Linked DNA regions of Homo sapiens: region 2 is linked to region 1. The links are contacts of gene promoters, found by promoter capture Hi-C in human tissues and cell types (Jung and others, 2019). All regions are on one chromosome and are shown on one strand. Each heading gives the region's core, a stretch centred on a gene start or on the middle of the fragment in contact. The rest is flanking DNA. Distances are from core to core; before and after follow the strand shown. Region 1 holds the start of TDRD10 (tudor domain containing 10). Region 2 overlaps IL6R (interleukin 6 receptor).

Region 1 (2,704 bases), core at 132-2,631:
GTGCTCCTTTCCTCATATGGCTGCTGCGCAACAAATGCCCATGGAATGAATGAAAGGGCAGCAGTCTTGGAGATTTGCTGAACCTCCGAGGAGCCCTTTACTCGGTGGAACCGCAGAAAATGATGGAACTTCCAAATCAGTGGAGAAGACTGTTGGTTAAACCATTTCCTGAAGCTTTGAAATGCATATCTACACACTTGAGAGGTTACCATTCCTTATGCTCAAGAAGCATAAAAGTCATACACAAGCCTAGCTTTGCAATTCCCCTGAATATCAAAATTAAAATGAACCACATCTATAAAGGGGTCAAATGTAACCAAACAGGAATATCTCATTCAACGACTCTTCTAAACTGCTAACAAAATTCAATGGCTAGTACATTTCTGCAAAACTCCCCACCTCTAAAATAAGAGTTTTTCAAGAATTAAAAAACAGTCTAAGAATTTTAAATGGTCAGGAATTCCCAAATGGTGGAGGGAGAAAGGACCTTAGGAAACCTATCCTCACTGCCTCTTAGGTCTAAAGAAGCCTAGGGCTTAGCAGGCGCCCAGGGCTCCCCTTCGACTGAGAGGTGGTCCAAGGGAGGCTGTATTCTTACCGTCTCTTGCTGCTTAATAATCTTGCCCTTGTCCAGCTCGGGCCCCAGGGAGGAAGGGGAAGAGGACGCGGAGGAAGAGGAGCTGGAGCTGGAGCTACTGCTGCTGGGGTAGTTGCTCTTCCCGTTCTTCTCCTGAGTGTCCACCTTGATGAGCCTGTTGATGTAGGTGCTGCAGCCCGAGCTCTTGGTTGCACCCCGGTGGGGCTCCTCCTCCGTGGCCCGGGAGTTTTTGCGGCCCTTGCCCGCGGCGGCCTGAATCAGACCCTGCAGGCTGTCGCGGGACAGCCGGCTGTCCTTGGGGCCGACGCCGGCCCTGCCGCTCCCCAGCTCGGCCGCCGAGTTCTTGCGGCCCTTGCCAGGACCCGGCCCAGCGCCGCCCGCCTCCGAGTTCTTGCGCAATTTGCCGCCGCCGCCCCCGGGCTTGGCCCGCTCCGACACGGTCTTCAGGTTCAGGGGGAACTCCTTGAACCACTTGGCCGCCATGAGGGGGCCCCGGCCGGCTCGGCCCAGGAGCGTCGGGGCCGTGGAGCAGGCGAGCGAGGAAGCCCAGCCCAGACACGCAGAGGCGCCAGGGGTCGGGGACCACTGCATTCCCCGTGACTGGGGCGCTGGAGGCCGCGGCGAGGCCCCGCGACGGCTGCTCCGTGCGCCCCCGGCCGGCCGTCGCCCACGCCCGGCAGGGTGGGGTTCTCACGGCTCGGGGCGCCGAGCGGGCGGGCGCTAGCCTCTGCTCCGGACACGGCAGGCGACAGGCACGACGCGCGGGGGGCCCCGCCCGGGCTCGTCTTCAACGCCTGCCCGGCCCGAGGACACCGTGGCTCTCGGAGGCGGCGGGCGCCGGGGGCTTCCCCCTGCTCTTTCCTCCTGCGGTGGGAGAGGCCAGGCCCACGGAAGCCCCCTGCGGCCCAGCCCACGCTCCCAGGGACCAGAGAGGACCGAGCGGAGGCGGCGGGAGTATCCCCGGCGCAGCGACAGACGGTGGACGGACGGCGAGCGGCCCATCAACTCCGCGCGCCCCTCCCCTCCGCGGCTGGCGCCTCCCAGCCCCGCCACCTCCTGCCCAGAGCTGGGGGCGGCGGGGTGAGCGCCATGGCAGAGGCGGGTCGGGCTGCGAGCTCTGGAGAAAGGGGCGGCGGCCGCACGTGCGGATCGGCCGCGCCCCACTGAGCAGAGAGCCCCCTTCTGCCGCCGACAGCCCGCGTCTGCACCGAGCCGGTCTCGGCCGGGCGCTGCCTTCACACGCGCCCAGGAGTGTCACGTGCGCCGCTCACCCCCGGGAAGGAAGCCCCTCGCCCACCCACTCCGCTCTACTCCACTCTTTCTGCAGACGTTATTTTTGGCGGTAGGGCAGAGGTTGCGGCCCGAGGTCCGGGCGCAGGGACAACGGTCGCCAGCTCCTGCGCTAGTTCCGTTACTCTTCGGTGGCACACGGTCCTGGGCAGCGCGAGGCTCTTCCCGCCGTGGCCGCCGGGGATTGGCTGCCGGCAAGCCCCGCCCCGTGCCCCCGGGCTCAGAGGGGGCGGAGCGCGGAGGGAGAAGGCGCGAAGGCTGGGCGTCGCGATCGCAGGTGCACGCGCGTGGCCCGCGAGACGAGGTATGGCTTGTCGGCCCCAGGTCCCGGGATGCCAGGCGAGGGTTGGGAGGGAGGGGCGTCGGCAGGCAGCCATGGGAAACGCCCTCGTCCCGACTGATGGGGGAAAGGGGTCGCTGTTCCCGCGGGGCCGTCGCTCGCTCGCGCCGGTTGGGAGCGGCCCTCCTAGTCTGGATTTGTGCGGGCGGGGAGTGCCGTGTGCAGAACTGTGGCCACTTTAAGGGAAAAGACGCCTCTGCCATTCCTCCCTCCCTTCGAAGCCCTTTAAAAGCTTTCTGAGGCCGGGCGCGGTGGCTCACGACTGTAATCCCAGCACTTTGGGAGGCCGAGGCGGGCAGATCACCTGAGATCAAGAGTTCGAGACCAGCCTGGCCAACATGGTGAAACCTGGTCTCTACTAAAAATACAAAAATTAGCCGGGCGTGGTGGTGCGCGCCTATGGTTGCAGCTACTCAGGAGGCTGAGGCAGGAGAATCGCTTGAACCCGGGAGGCGCAGGTTGCAGTGAGCTGAGAT
Region 2 (2,704 bases), core at 132-2,631, 63 kb before region 1:
ACTTAAATTTTTTTTTTTTTGAAGACAGGCTTTCTCCTCGTTGCCCAGGATGGAGTACAGCAGTGCAATCACAGCTCACGGCAACTTCTGCCTCCTGGGTTCAAGCAATCCTCCCGCCTCAGCCTCCTAAGTAGCTGGGACCACAGGCGTGTGCCACAATGCTAATTTTTTAAAAATGTTTTGTAGAGACAGGGTTTCACCATGCTGCCCAGGCTGGTCTCGAACTCCTGGCCTCAAGTGATCCACCAGCCTCAGACTCCCAAAGTGCTGGGATTACTGGTGTGAGCCACTGCACCTGACTAAACTTTAAATTTTTTTTTTTAGACGGAATCTCGCTCTGTTGCCCAGGCTGGAGTGCAGTGGCATGATATTGGCTCACTGCAAGCTCTGCCTCTTGGGTTCACGCTATTCTCCTGCCTCAGCCTCCTGAGTAGCTGGGACTACAGGTGCACACCACCACGCCCGGCTAATTTTTTTTTTTTTTTAGTAGAGACGGGGTTTCACTGTGTTGGCCAGGCTGGTCTTGAACTCCTGACCTCGTGATCCACCCGCCTCGCCCTCCCAAAATGCTGGGATTACAGGTGTGAGCCACCGCGCCTGGCCTAAACTTTTAAAATTTTAATCAAATTAATACATGCACATGGCAAAGAAGTAATAAACAGCTTATAACACTGAGCAGTGGTCCCTTGTCCCATGCCTTCCATTTCTAGTCCTGCTTTCTAAGGAAGCTGCTTGACTCTTTCTGTTTCTAGTTCCTCTGTTGGTGCCCTCCTTAACTCTAAACAACAAGCTTATATGGCTTTTTTTTTTCCCTGATAAAACCACTTGAGACATTATCTATCAACACCCTGCTATGAAAGGTTAGGATTTAGCAGATCTAGAATGCAAGAATCTCCCTGACCACAACCCAGAGAGTGGTCAGCCAGCCTCTGCTTAAATGCTTCCAGAGACAGAGAGCTTACTACCCCTTGCAGCAATCTGTTTTATTGTTCCCAGTGTTTTTGTTGTAGAATGGCTTCATGGCTCACTTTGGGGTCAAATGTTTCTAGCCCTGTGGCGTAGTTGAACCAAATTAATCATTCTTAAATACTTGGCAGTTAGGAAAAAAAAAAGAATAAGATACCCATTTATTTGAGTAAGTATGGATAAAAAGGAAAAGGTAGAATTGACATCAGTCCCATCCCGACCCCTGCCACTTTCTCCCAGCCCTGGCCCCAGGGAGAGAAGGCTTTTATCTATGGGCTGCACATTCTTCCCCCAGATTGGATGGTGTGGGGTGATGGCTCTTCCTCCTGGCTGGCTTTGTACTGTGGGGTCCTTGTCCCTTGTCTTTCCTGTCCTGGGGAGAGCCAGAGGAGTATGCTGGGGCTTAGGGTGTAATCCTAGTTGGATGCAATAATATGAAGTGCCGGCTTCCATCTTTGTTGGCACTTTCCTTGTTCATCAAGGACAGGAGGCAGCTTTCTATTGGGCCCTCTCCTCAAAAGCTTTTTTCCTGCTCAGACCTGGACAAGGAGTGGGGCCTAACTACTATATCTTACTTAGGGAGACCATTTTAATAAATCAGTGCATCCTTCAGGGTAGATCGTATTGACCTGTCCATGGTTTTCTTTGATTTGTGTATACTTTGAGCCAAACACACTCATTTATCTGAATGCTGAGCATCAGTATGGCTTTGGGGGCCTTTTTAAGGGGGGAAAAATCAGCTCTAACATCGTGCAGAGGAATAGGAATTCCAAATATAGGCTGATCCCTATTTTACCTTTTATTCCAACCACTTAGTTCAGATAGTCACAAGCAGCTTAAAGCTTGTGACAAGCAGCTTAAAAGCAATCTTGCTTTTTTATAAAGTTTCTTCTAAAAATTTTCAAATTGTAAAATGTACATAAGATTTACCATTTATATTATTATTATTATTTTTTGAGACGGAGTCTCGCTCTGTCGCCCAGGCTAGAGTGCAGTGGCGTGATCTCAGCTCAATGCAACCTCTGCCTCCCGGGTTCAAGCAATTCTCCTATCTCAGCCTCCCGAGTAGCTGGGACTACAGGCACCTGCCACCATGACTGGCTAATTTTTATATTTTTAGTGGAGATGGGGTTTCACCATATTGGTCAGGCTGGTCTTGAACCCCTGACCTCAGGTGATTCACCCACCTCAGCCTCCCAAAGTGCTGGGATTACAGGCGTGAGCCACCGCGCCCTGCCCATTTATATTATTTTTAAGTGCACAGCTCTGTGGCATTAAGTATTGTTGTGCAACCATCACCACTTTACTTCTCCAGGACTTTTTTCATCTTGTAAAACTGAAACTCAGAATCTGTTAAACAGTAACTTTCCTTTCACCCACTCCTTCCCCCAGCTCGTGGCAACCACCAGTCTACTTGCTTTTTCTGTGAGTTTGACTACTCTAGTACTTCATTTGCTTGCTTGCTTGCTTGCATGCCTGCCTACCTGCCTGCCTGCCTTCCTTTGTCTCTTTCTGTCTCTCTCTTTTTCTCTTTTTTTTTGAGACGGAGTCTCACTCTGTCACCCACCCAGGCTGGAGTGCACTGTCGTGACCTTGGCTCACTGCAACCTCTGCCTCCCGGGTTCAAGCAATTCTCCAGCCTTAGCCTCCTGAGTAGCTGAGATTACAGGCGCCTGCCACCATGCCTGGCTAATTTTTGTATTTTTTGTAGAGACAAGGTTTCACCATGTTGCCCAGG

Evidence for each region. The method cuts DNA at HindIII sites, captures the fragments that hold promoters and counts their contacts. A contact is called where the count stands out against the background at its distance.
Region 2: a fragment that was not itself captured here is called in contact with the fragment with the promoter of TDRD10 in region 1 in 1 of the 25 tissues and cell types used here (pancreas).

The regions. Positions count from the first base shown.
Region 1 is chr1:154,500,838-154,503,541 of GRCh38, forward strand. TDRD10 (tudor domain containing 10) reads left to right here and starts at 1,382. Exons shown (of 13, transcript NM_182499.4): 1 at 1,382-2,192. SHE (Src homology 2 domain containing E) reads right to left here and starts at 1,575. Exons shown (of 6, transcript NM_001010846.3): 1 at 599-1,575. The coding sequence starts at 1,189. The HindIII fragment of the contact is 3,684 bases long and covers 1-2,704 here.
Region 2 is chr1:154,437,411-154,440,114 of GRCh38, forward strand. All of the region lies in intron 6 of IL6R (interleukin 6 receptor), which reads left to right. Among named protein-coding and RNA genes, the nearest start is that of IL6R-AS1, 32 kb to the left of the region's middle. The HindIII fragment of the contact is 3,775 bases long and covers 1-2,704 here.